Regions from separate parts of the Homo sapiens genome. Here regions 1, 3 and 4 are each linked to region 2. The links are contacts of gene promoters, found by promoter capture Hi-C in human tissues and cell types (Jung and others, 2019). All regions are on one chromosome and are shown on one strand. The core of a region is centred on a gene start or on the middle of the fragment in contact, and the rest is flanking DNA. Distances in the headings are between cores, read along the strand shown. Region 1 overlaps SLCO1B3-SLCO1B7 (SLCO1B3-SLCO1B7 readthrough). Region 2 holds the start of SLCO1C1 (solute carrier organic anion transporter family member 1C1). Region 3 overlaps SLCO1B1 (solute carrier organic anion transporter family member 1B1). Region 4 overlaps SLCO1B1 (solute carrier organic anion transporter family member 1B1).

Evidence for each region. Contacts are between HindIII fragments. The study calls those that stand out against the background at their distance.
Region 1: a fragment that was not itself captured here is called in contact with the fragment with the promoter of SLCO1C1 in region 2 in 1 of the 25 tissues and cell types used here (spleen).
Region 3: a contact is called between a fragment that was not itself captured here and the fragment with the promoter of SLCO1C1 in region 2, in 2 of the 25 tissues and cell types used here (H1 embryonic stem cells and mesenchymal stem cells).
Region 4: a contact is called between a fragment that was not itself captured here and the fragment with the promoter of SLCO1C1 in region 2, in 2 of the 25 tissues and cell types used here (aorta and mesenchymal stem cells).

What each region holds. Positions count from the first base shown.
Region 1 is chr12:20,998,615-21,001,941 of GRCh38, reverse strand. All of the region lies in intron 13 of SLCO1B3-SLCO1B7 (SLCO1B3-SLCO1B7 readthrough), which reads right to left. The region is part of intron 1 of LOC124902894 (putative solute carrier organic anion transporter family member 1B7); the gene reads right to left. Among named protein-coding and RNA genes, the nearest start is that of SLCO1B1, 130 kb to the left of the region's middle. The HindIII fragment of the contact is 4,104 bases long and covers 1-3,327 here.
Region 2 is chr12:20,693,613-20,696,793 of GRCh38, reverse strand. It overlaps SLCO1C1 (solute carrier organic anion transporter family member 1C1), which reads right to left and starts at 1,462. Exons shown (of 15, transcript NM_017435.5): 1 at 987-1,462. The HindIII fragment of the contact is 14,433 bases long and covers 1-3,181 here.
Region 3 is chr12:21,183,584-21,186,652 of GRCh38, reverse strand. The region is part of intron 7 of SLCO1B1 (solute carrier organic anion transporter family member 1B1); the gene reads right to left. Among named protein-coding and RNA genes, the nearest start is that of SLCO1B1, 54 kb to the right of the region's middle. The HindIII fragment of the contact is 6,857 bases long and covers 1-3,069 here.
Region 4 is chr12:21,163,327-21,166,531 of GRCh38, reverse strand. The region is part of intron 2 of SLCO1B1 (solute carrier organic anion transporter family member 1B1); the gene reads right to left. Among named protein-coding and RNA genes, the nearest start is that of SLCO1B1, 34 kb to the right of the region's middle. The HindIII fragment of the contact is 4,086 bases long and covers 1-3,205 here.

The DNA.
Region 1 (3,327 bases), core at 706-3,205, 300 kb before region 2:
CAAGGGAACACCCCGTGGGACAAAAGAACCCAGACAGCAGGCCTTGAGTCCCAGATCTTTCAACTGTTGGGAAGTTTCTTTCAGCAGCAGAACATTTGCAGTGCAGGGCTCGGCAGAGAAAGTCTGCAGCTCTAACCCAACAGTCAGGGAGTCCTGGTACTTGTGAAGAATCTTGGAGAAGGGACTTCTTTTGCCTCTCATCCACTACTGCAGATATAGCTAGGGCTGTTAACACAGGAGCTTGGTATGGATACACCTATAGACAGCCTTTGTGGAACACTTCAGGGTGATTGCATCCCCACAGGAGGAACACCTCCAGGCACAGGTTTGCACAAGAGGTAGAGTCACAATTCTTCTCTATGTAGAACATCAACATTCTTGCAGATGAGAAGAGGTACCTGTCTGATATAAATAGCCATAACATTGGGTCAAGGGTGTGTCTGGAATGGGAATAGCTTTCCTGTAGACCTGAGAGAGCTGCTGAGGTGGATATGGTCCTTCTCTCTGTTAAGACCTCAGTGAATTTCACTGAGATCACCCTCATCCACCTTTGTCAAGAATAGGACCTCTGCCCACCATCGGGTATCGCAATTACCCACCCAATTTAGCCACAGCTGGTTTTTAAACATGGACACCTCCCACACTGGACTAAAGCCTGAACTATTTAACCCAGTAACTAAAATACATAGGAAAAAATAAACAAAAAAGTACACACCAGAGTGGAATGAGATAAGCTTCAAGAGACCTCTGTCATTCCGACTCTATAGGAGATTGTGAACTTGCTTACACACTGGGCACATTGCTACTACAACTAGCATCAGAGAAAGCCATCATACAAAGACTCTCTATAACCAAGGAATTCATACAGAGTTTTTACCCATTAAAGTACAAAGAGCCAAATTAAGCCACAGTAAACTACAAACATTAAAGTCACATACTTGGAGGGGGGAAAGAAATTTAAAAAAAAAAGTCAAATTAAAAATGAATTTAAGAATAATTAGGCCGGGTGCAGTGGCTCACACCTGTAGTCCCAGCACTTTGGGAGGCCAAGGCGGGTGGATCATGAGGTCAGGAGATCGAAACCATCCCGGCCAACATGGTGAAACCCCGCCTCCGCTGAAAATAGAAAAATTAGCTGGGCGTGGTGGCGAGCACCTATAATCCCAGCTACTTGGGAGACTGAGGTAGGAGAATCGCTTGAACCCAGGAGGCGGAGGTTGCAGTGAACCGACATCGTGCCACTGCACTTTAGCCTGGTGACAGAGCAAAACTCCGGAAAAAAAACAAAAAGAATAATTAGAAGAAATACTCTACCCAAATGAGAGAAAAACAAACCGAAAGACGATTTTGTTAATATGACAAAATAGGGTTCTGTAACACCCCAAAAGATTATACTAGCACTCCAGCAATTGATCCAAACCGAGATGAAATCTTTGGAATACAAAATAAAGAATTTAATAGGTTGGTTATAAAGCTACTCAAAGAGATACTTGAAAAAGGTGAAAACCTACATTAAGAAATGAAAAAAAAAATTCAGGATATGAAGGAAACATTTTATAAAGTGACAGATATCTTAAAGATAAACCAATCAGAACTTTTGGAAATGAAAGACAAATTTAGAAATTACAAAATGCAGTGAAAAGTTTCCACAATAGACTAGAACACGTAGAAGAAAAAAAAAATCAAAGCTCAAAGACTAGGCTTTTAAATTTACCCAAACAGACAAAAATAAAGGAAAAGAATAAAAATAAATGAAGTTTTCAAGATCTATGGGATTATGGAAAAGAGCCAAACCTAAGAATAATTGGTGTTCCTGAGGGAGAAAACAAAAAAGTCTTGGAAGCATATTTCAGGGAATAATTGAGGAAAACTTCCCTGGCCTCGCAATAAATTTAGATATTCAAATATGAGAAGCTCAAACAATTCCCGGAGATTCACTGCAAAAAGGTCATCACCAAGGTATGTAGTCATCAGGCTACATAAAGTCTGTATGAAAAAAGACTTCTGAGAGCTCTAAGTCAAAAGCATTAGGTAACCTATAAAGGAAAACCTATAAGACTAACAGCAGACTTCTCAGCACAAACCTTACTAGCCAGAATGGATGAGAGTCCTATCTTCAGGCTCCTTACACAGAATAACTGTCAGGCAGAAATTTTGTATCTGGTAAAACTAAGTTATATAAATGAAGGAGAAATAAAGTCATTTTTAGACAAACAAATGATGAGGGAATTTGTTGCTACCAGACCAGCCTTACAAAAAATTCTGAAAAGGGTTTTAAATCTTGAAACAAAAGCTTGATATGCACCAAAACAGAATTTGAAAGCATAAAACTCAAAGGGCCTCTAAAAGAATTACACAATTTAAGAAAAGTATCCAAGTAACAATTCAAATGATGAGCGGGAAAATACCTTACATCTAAATTTTAATGTTGAATGTAAGTGTCCAAAATGCTTCACTTAAGAGATACTGATCAACAGAATGTATAAAGAATCACAAACCAAATATCAACTTTCTTCACATGACTCACATAATACATAAGGATTCATAAAACTCAAGGTAAAGGGGTGAAAAAAGATATTTCATGGAAATGGAAATCAAAAGTCAGCAGAAGTAGCTATTCTTATATCAAATAAATCAGACTTTAAAGCAACAGCAGTAAAAAAGAAAGACATAGAAGATTATTATATAATGAAAGAAGGATCAATCCAACAAGAAGATATTAAATTTATATGCACCAAACAATGGAGCACCTAGATTCATAAAACAATTACTACTGGACCTAAGAAATGAGATAGACAGCAACACAATAATAGTGGATGGCTTGAAAACATCACTGACAGCACTAGACAGATTATCTAGCCAGAAAAGCAATAAAAAATGGACTTAAACTACATTCTAGAACAAATGAACCTAACAGATACACATGAATCTTACAAAACATTTTGTCCAAGAACTGCGGAATAACATTCTTGTCATCAGCACTTGGAACATTTTCCAACATAGATAATACAGTAAGACAGAAAACAAGCCTCAATAAATATTTGGAAACTCAAAATCATATCAAATATTTTCTCAGACCACAGTGGAATAAAACTAGAAATGAACTCCATAAGGAATCCCCCAAATTATACAAATACATGAAAATTAGACAATATGCTCTGGAATAATTTTTGGGTTAACAATGAAATCAAGATGGAAATTAAACTTCTTTGAAATAAACGATAATACGTCAGTTATTACATAAACGATGATATGTCAGATAATACAAGTTATCAAAACCCCATGGATACAGCAAAAGGAACTCTAACAGAAAAGCTTATAATACTA
Region 2 (3,181 bases), core at 213-2,712:
CGGAAAGATCCTTGGGGCCTGCAGGCTCTCTCTCTTCATTTGCAACTGCAGAAGTAGAGCAAGAGTACACAGTTATTCAGAATTATTTGCATTTGGCAAATCCTTAATTGATCTCTGGCCACTTGAATAGATTCTTCCAGGAAAAGACATACGACAGTTTTCATCCAATACCCTGGGTTTGGAGCATAACTTATTCTGGAGGCCAAAGAAAAACAAGCCAAGCAGTTTCTCTTCCTTTGGTTCAAAAACATTGAATAATCAGTCCTCATTAGTTTCAAAATCAGCCCTCCAGATTTTAAATGGAGAGAGCAAGTGGCTTAGGAAGGTTGTAGTTAGATCCCGCAGATGTACTCAACCCCTCTGCTCTGCAACTGACTCGGACTCTGTCCAGCAATCAGTCCCCAAGGACTGCCACAGAGAAAGTCCTAAAGGCAACCACGCTCCTCCCTCTCTTCTCTTGGCCATCTCCTGTGAGGAAAACCTCTGTCCTGGCTTGACTTCTGGACACCAGGATGCCTCCCTTCAGACAAACTAAAAAATAGCCTCACGGCACTTGCTGCAGAGGAGTGTGTGTTGTTTAGAAACTAATTTCTCACCTAATACAAATTATCTGTGTCAGATTCAGATTTAATAAGTACTATTTTTGTGTTGAGTAATGTACGTACTTTTTCTAATCCTTAAAACAACCCAACAAACGTAATATTAGAATTCCATTTTTTAAATTAGATGGCCCAAAGCAATTAAGTGACTTGTCAAAAGCTAAACAATTTATAAGCATGAGACTCAAAATTTGAACTCAAATTTGAGTTTATCTGATTTCTTTAACCAATCTTCTCTCTTATTTCCATCAAACTAATGAGGGGATCATCACCTTTCACTGATATTTTTATGGATAAAACATAAATCGCACAGAAATTAAGGGTTAATCTCCCATAAGAATCTGATGTATTAGTCACAAAATATAAAATGAGAGAACCAAGTCTTACCTGGAGGAAGAGATCAAAGATAGCCAGTTCCTTTCAATGTGCTCAGCAAGAGGATGGACCACACACCACAGACTGAAAGAGGAAACTGAGGTAAACTCCACAGCAATTTTGAACAATTTTGCCAGGTGGGGAGAGTGTGGGTGGACACAAGCAGAGGAGATTAGGGAAAAGAAAAGATGAAGGGCATGGTCTCACCCCTGAGCGATCTCTTCTCTTTCCTCTTTCTTCCTGGCCTCTTTTTTCTGGCAGTCAGCAGAGAATTGGCCACGCTGGCAAGGCCACTGACGTGCATCTCAGCTCCCAGGGCACAGAAAGAGCTGAAGCTTTTGAGCCATTTCTTTGCAATTTGCTGCAAGTTTAAGGCCACACGTGATAAAGCTTTCTTTATGGGAGAGAGTGAATAAAAGAAAAGACCACTTGTGATCTTACTTGCTGATTCCCAGAAAACACAACTCCGCAGGGGGCAGAGGGTAAGGAACAGAAGCCAGAGGAGGGCGGAAGTTTATAACAGAGACCCCTCCTCCTTCCAGAAAGTTTTTAAGCCAACTATTCCTTAGGGACATCACTGGGATCCTTGTGTTTTCTTTGTTTGTGTGTTTTGGTTTTGGTTTGTTTTGTTTTGTCTTTAACGGTTCTTGGGCTAATTTGCTACATGGTTTTCTTTTCCATTGGTGTTCTAGAATCTTTAAGGACCAAGTATCAGGTCACAATCAAAGCTCTGCAGCGCTCTGTACAAAAAGAGTTAATTCTCAGAGACATGATCAGTTGCTCATATTTACAATTTCTATGAGTTTTGAAAACAGAAAAGAAACACGTTGAATTTTTGGCATTCAATTGTTTATTCTGCCTAATTCCAAGGATAAATAAATCCTTGCACTGAGAAAGTCCACAATTCTAATACATTCTTTTTCCAAGAGAAAAACTTTAGAGGATCTTAAGCAGTAGTAGTTTGCATTTATTTTCTACCAATAAATAAATTTGCTACCAGAATTATCCAAGATTCACCCTACTCTTAAGTGGCTGAGACTCTGGGATGGTCACTTAATTTTACTGAGTCTCAACTTCTTCCTTTGTAAAGCAGAATTTTTTTGTTTAAAAAAAAAAAAAACAGATTTATAGGGCTGTTTTAAGGATTAAATTATATAATGTATTCAAAAGCACATTGCAAATGAGCGGAAGGTATCATCATTTTATATATATATATATTTAGTTCACATAATGGTCAGAATAGTTAATATTATTCAAGCACATTTTACTACAAAAGAAAGAAAAGAAAATGCAAGAAAAATGGGTTTATATTAAACCTTGCAATGAAGCAATGGTGTTTTCACACTCTGAAAGGCCAAATATTTTACTTTAACAATCAAACCAGACTTTTCCATCGGAAATAGTGAGCAAACATCCGAATACATTGAGTGTTAGTCTAGACTTCTCAGTGTCTAACAGGTGGCCAGACCACTGTTTTATTCAAGAGGAGACAGTATTTACCAGCCCAAAGGGCATAATTTTCCTCACCAAGAAATGAAATTCTCCCTTGAGAATGTAATTTTGTCTATTCCCAACTGGCTCAGTCTCACTCTCCAACACGATTCCTTTTCTTATTTCCAGAGTCCACAGTTAATGTTACTGTTTTGAATGCACATAATGTTTACACTTATTCAGAGCTTCTTATGTGCAACCTTGCATTGGATTGTAGCCTACTTCAGCCTTTCATTCCCATTTCCAAACTCTAGATGAGGGAGTTAACAAACTTCTATAAAGGGACAAATAAGAAATATTTTAGGTTTTGTAGGACCATGCAATCTCTATCACAACCACTCACCTCTGCCATTCTGGTGGTAAATTAACCACAGACAACATATAAATGAATGCATTTCCTAAGACTGCACTAACAAAGTACTACAAGCTGAGTGACCTAAAACAGAACTTTATTGTCTCACACTTTTGGAGGCCAGAAGTCAAAAATCAAGGTGTCAGCAGAGCCATGCTCCCTCTGAGACCTGTAGGGAAGAATCCTCCTTACCTCTTCCACCTCCTGGTGTTTGCTGACAGCCTGAACTCCTTGTTTTATAGGTGTATCACTCCAACAGCTGCTTCTGTTACCACATGGCCATCTTCTCCCTTTATGTCTCTGTCCTCTGTACTTAAAAAAACGCTAGTCATCTTTGGCTGGGGACCACCCTCATGACCTCATC
Region 3 (3,069 bases), core at 564-3,063, 490 kb before region 2:
TTTATGCTGGATTCATTTGTATTGAAACAATGGGCAGCTGAAGACCTCAATCTGCATTATATATCAAGCAATACAACTTTTTCTTGTAATGTCGTGACTTTTCTCAGTTTCTTAGGAGCAGTTTCAGCATCACTAGTGGCAATTCATATGGCTCCAACGGTGTTATTCAAAGTTGACAGTATTGCACTAAACAGTATAAAAACGCACAAGAATCACAATCAGATTTTGCTGCAATCCGCAATTTATTGGAGAGAGGAACTGTTCATGTGGAGATAATTAGTGTCACATGGTGTTTTAAGCAGGTGCTTTCAACACAACCTTATTACTACAATTACAGGAGGTGCTATGAAATTATTACAGCAGTAACGTATATATTACAGTCAATTGTATAAAGTTATGCTTTAATAGTACATCTTCACATTTGTTTTCACTTCTCTTGACTGTAGATGAGATAATATGAGGTACATATGTGTTTCTGTGCTTAAATTTGAAGTTTAACTTTAAAAAAGCGAACTTTTATGTTAGAATAAAATTAGAATTAGTAGAATTTGGCTGAGAATCCATCTGGTCCAGGGCTTTTTTTTTGGTCAGTAGGTTTTTTATTACTAATTCAATTTGATAACTTGTTATCGGTCTGTTCAGGTTTTCACTTTTTTTCTGGTTTAATCTTTGGAGGTTGTTTCCAAGAATGACTCTACTTCCTCTAGATTTTCTAATTTGTGTGCAGAGGGGCATTTGTAATGCATTTCTATGGGAGTTGTAATGTGATCTTTGTCATTTCCGATTGTGCTTAATTGGGTCTCCTTTTTTTCCTTGTTAATCTAGTTAACAGTCTATTAATCTTTTTGTATTCTTTTGAATAACAAACTCTTGGTTTTATTTATCTTTTGTATACATTTTGCATCACAATTTCATTCTGATTTTCGTTATTTATTTTCAGTTTGCTTTGGGGTTGTCCTTTTTTTTTCTAGTTAGTGTAAGTGCAATGTTAAATTGTTAATTTGAAATCTCTCTGCCTTCTTGATGAAGGCCTTTAGCATTGTAAACTTCCTCTTAACACTGCTTTAGATAGATCCCAAAGATTTTAGTGAGGTGTGTCTCTATTTTATTTAATGTCAAAAACGGTTTTACTTTCATTCTTAAACCAAGAATTATTCAGGAAAAGTTGTTGAATTACCATACTTTTGGGTGGTTTTAAGAAATCTTTTTGGTATTGATTTCTATTTTTATTGCACTTTTGTTCAAGAATGTACTCAAAATCTTTTAATTTTTTGAATGTATTGAGACTTTATGACTGAGCATATGATTGATTTTAGAATACAATCTATATGCAGATGAGAAGAAAGCATATTCTGATAGTGCTGGGTGGAGTATTCTGTAGGATGTTTTTGGATCCAGTTGGTTGAGAGTTGAGTTTAAGTCCAAAATTTACATTTTAATTTTCTGCTTCGATATCTAACACTGTCAGTGAGTTGTTGAAGTCTTCCACTATCATGGTGTGGCTGTCTGTTTTTAGTTTCCTTAGGTCTCTAAGAATCTTTTTTGTAAATCTGGGTCCTCCACTTTTGACTGCATATATATTTAGAATAGTTAAGTCTTCTCGTTTAATGGAACACTTTATCCTTATGTAATACCCTTCTTTGTCCTTCTTGATGGTTTTTGGTTTAATGTCTGTTTTATCTGATATAAGAATAGTGATTACTGCCCTGTTTTGTTTTCTGTTTGCATGGATAGATCTCTTTCCGTTCCTTTACTTTGATCCTGTGGGTATTGTACATGTAAGATGTGTCTTTTAAAGACAACAGAAGGCTAAGTTTTGTCTACTTATGAAGCTTGTCACTCAGTGTCTTTTACTTGGGGCATTTAGCCTGTTTACATTCAGGGTTATTATTGATACGTGAGATTTTGATCATGGCATCATGTTGTTAGCTGGTTGTTTCATAGACTTGGTTGTATAGTTGCTTTATGTGTCTGGGCTACCTATTTAAGTGAGTATTTGTTGTGGCAAGTATTAATCTTTTGTTTCCATGTTTAGCACTCTTCTAGAGACCTGTTATAAGGCTGGTTTAGTGATAAGAAATTTCCTCAATGTTTGCTTGTATGAGAAGGAGTTTAGTTCTCTTTCACTTACAAAATTAATTTGGTGGGATATTAAATTTTTGGTTGAAATTTCTTTTCTTTAAGGGTGCTGAAAATAGGTCCCCAATCTCTTCTGGCTTGTATGGTTTTTGCTCAAAGGTGTTCTGCAAGATTGATGGGGTTCCCCTTGACAGTGACTTGATCCATCTCTCTAGCTGCCCCCCAAAAAAATCTTAAAATATTTATTTCTTTCATGTGGACTTTGGGGAATCTAATGAGTAGATGCCTTGGGGATTGTCATCTTTATAGCATCTCAAAGGGGTTCTCTGTAATTTAGGAATTTGCATATCAATCTCTCTAGCAAGTTTGAGGATATTTTCATGGACTATATCTGCAAATACGTTTTACAAGTTGTTTACTCTCTCTTTTTCTCTCTCAGGAATTCCAATGAATCATAGGCTTGGTTTCTTTACAGAAGGAAACCAAATTCCTAGAAGTTTTCTTCATTTTTATGTTTTTTTTTCTTTCTTTCTTTTTGTCTGATGGAGTGGATTATAAAAACTGGTTTTTAAGCTCTGAGATTCTTTTCTCTCTTTGGTATGTTCTGTTGCTAAAGGTCTGGATGTATTATCAAATCCATGTAGTATTTTTTTTAATTCCAGAAGTAGTGTTTTTTTAATGGCTATTATGTCTTTCAGCTTTTGGATCATTCTACTGGAATTATTGAATTCCTTAAATTGTGTTTCAGCACTTTCCTGAATCTCAATGAGCTTTCTTGCCATCCAGATTCCGAATTGCCTGTCTGTCATTTTAGTCATTCCAATGTGGTTAAGAACCATCGCTGGAGAGCTCAAATGCACCCATTTGAAGGTTAAGGTACATTCTTACTTTTTGAATTGCCAGATTTCTTGTTGATTCTTTTTCATCTTGAAGGAATGGTGTTCCTTTAACTGTGGTATAAGTTGAGTATGGTCAGTTGGTTTAATTTCT
Region 4 (3,205 bases), core at 100-2,599, 470 kb before region 2:
CACATGCTCATTTGTTGTCTCTATATCTTCTTCAGTGAGGCATCTGTTCAGATATCATCCTCATTTTATCATTGGGTTATTTTTCTAATTATTGAGTTTTAGATGTTCTTTGCATACTTTTGAATATCAGTTCTTTATTGGATATATCATTTCAATGTCTTCTGGTCTCTGATGAGAAATCAGTTGTTAATCTTATTAAGGAACTCTTGCCCATGATTATTTCCTACTCTTGTTGCTGTCAAGATTCTGAATTTATTTTTATTTTTTTGGCCTTTGACAGTTTGATCATAATGTGCCTCAAAGTGGATCTCTGAGTTTATTTGGATTTTCTTATGCTTCTACGATATTGAGATCATATATTTTATCAAATTTGGGACGTTCTCGGCCACTTTTTTTTCAAATATTATTTCTTCCCTTTTCTCTGTCTCTTCTCTTTCTAGAACTACTGTAATTGTTATGCTGGTTCACCTGATAGTGTCCCACAGTTCCGTATGTTTTGTTAATTTTTCTTCGTTTTTTTTTTCTTTCTGCTTCTCAGACTAATCATTTCAATTGTCTTATCTTCAAGTTTGCGGATTCTGTGTTCTAACTGCTCAAATTTGCTGTTGAACTTTTGTCTAAGTCAGTTCAGACTGCTATCACAAATTATGATGGAACGGATGGCTTAAACAACAAACATTTATTTCTCACAGTTCTGAAGGGTGAGAAGTCTGAGATAAGGGTGCCAGCATGGTCAATTTCTGGTGAGGGCCCTCTCCTAGGCTGCAAACAGCTAACTTCTCTTTGTATTCTCACATGGAGGAAAAAAATCTAGTGAGCTCTCCAGCATTTTCTTGTAAGGCACTACTCACATTATAAGAGCAAATTTCTCATGATCTCTTTAGCTCCCAAAGACTCCCAAATACTATCACATTGGATTTTGAAATTCAATACACAATTTTGGGGAGAGGGGAACAAATATTTAGTCCATAACAACTTCTTGTAAATTTTTATTTTGTTTATTGTATTTTTTTATCCCTTTGACCTTTCACTTGCCTTGTTCTAAGCTTGGGGATTAGCATTAGGTAAAAGGATACAATCTTCTCAGACGTTTTATGAGCATATGTCTTGCCTTGGACATATGTGTGGCTCCCTAAATACCTCTGTGTACATGCAGTGCTAGCTACATAATAACCTTGATAAATGTCTATTTTCATCCTCAGTTTGAGCTACCGTCTCCAGCTATATGTTCTAAATTTATTTAAATAAAAACCAGAGATATAAATGTGCACAATCATCAAATAAAATGTGCATTGGCAGAAAGAGACAACTGACATTGAGATAAGAAATAAAGTCTCTACTTGCCTGCAATCATGGCAGATCGGTCATTAATTTATTATGGCAATAGTTCTAAACTTAAAGTCAGAAGACAGTTCCAAGCTTCTAATTTGTCAAACGCACAACTTGGATTAGCTTTGGAACTCAACTGATTTACTCAAGAAACATTCATTGAGCAACTGTAATATAGCAGTTAGTCTGCTAAGCTATGTAGTTGAGGCAGGTACAGAGGAACAGGAACAAGGGCAGTAAAAACAAATAAGACATAATCAATGCACTGAAAATTATAATCTTCAGCAGCAATAAACCAATAATGACAGTATAATATGTATTGAGTTTTATAATTGCCATAAGTTTGTAATGTTATGTGCAGATAGGAAAAAGGGACTATTCTGACCTTACAGGTTAAAGTTCTTAAAGATGTGTTGACATTGGGGCTAAGTCTTCAGTTGATTATAGAAGCTTAGATATTGAAGACACAAAATACTTAAAACAAAATAGGAAGCACATGAAAAGCCCCTAAGAAGTGAAATAACACGGATTATTTGAAAAACAGAAATATTATTTGTGTAGGTGAAGTGTAAGGATAGAAATATGTTCAACATTGAGGAGTCAATATGCACTTTAAAATGTTACATAACAAAATTAAATTTTAGATGGTTAATTCTGGCAGCCATGAAGAAGAAGAACTTAGGAAAAAGAGATCTGTTAGAAAGCTGACTTCAGAAAATAAAAAAGAGTAGAGATGAAAAGTGTATAACAAGCTTACAGACACACAAGGAGAAGTTTAAGAGGAGAACCAACAGGAGGTGGGGAAAATAGAAAATGTAAATTCTGATTTTGTTTTCTAGTTCGGATAACTGTATGTTTGTTTTATAGTTTCTGGTTTGAATAACTGTCATTTGGTGGGAAAAAGAAGACAGCATTAAAGACAATATAATCATCTTTTCACAAGTCGAATTTGACATGCCTAAAAATAAACAAGTACCCAGTAGACACAACTAAGGCAGGCCTGTTGCATAAGAGATTTGCCTGGATGCAGTTTTGAAATTTACTAAGGAATGATTGTACAATTCATCCATATTAATTTATTTTATTAGAAAAAATGGATCTGCCTCCACCAAATGCTTTCTTTTCCATAACTCTGTCTCTCATGTCTTTTCCAGTAAAAATTTAAAGAGTTTGCCTGCATGACTCAAATCCTATTTTTTGCATAATTCCTCCCAAGTATCCTTAGATCATGTTATTCTGGCTGTTACATTTTTTTTTTTTCAGTGATTTGTTTCATACCGTCTTCTCTTTTTACTCTACATACTCTTGCTGGGCAAACCCATTCATTGTCTTTGCTTCGATTACCATCTGTCATAGAATGAATGTTTGTGTCCCTCTCAAATGCGCATGTCAAATCCTAACCCAATGTGATGGTATCAGGAGGTGAAGCTTTTGGGGGGTGATTAGATAATGGCTGTGGAACCCTCATGAATGAGATTTGTACCCTTTTAAGAAGAGAACTCACTTCCATTCTCTTTCTCTTTTAGCCATGTCAGGAAAGCAAGAAGAGAACTGTCACCAGAAGCTAACCATACTGGCACCCTGATCTTGGTCTCCCAGCCTACTGAACTGTGAGAAATAAATGTTTGTTGTTTAAGCTACCCAGTCTGTGGTATTTTTGTCATAGCAGCCTGAATTGACTAAGACACCAAGAAGACAGAGTTTGCAATTTCAAGCCAACAAAGTTAATTACTTTGTAAAACATCTGAACAAACAAATAACACCCTTTGAAATAATATAACAGTGTTCAAAATTACCCACTTATGAAGAACATGAAAGATGACAATCAATCAATACTAAGTCATAGATGGTACACACGTTGTAGTCCTTTAATGAA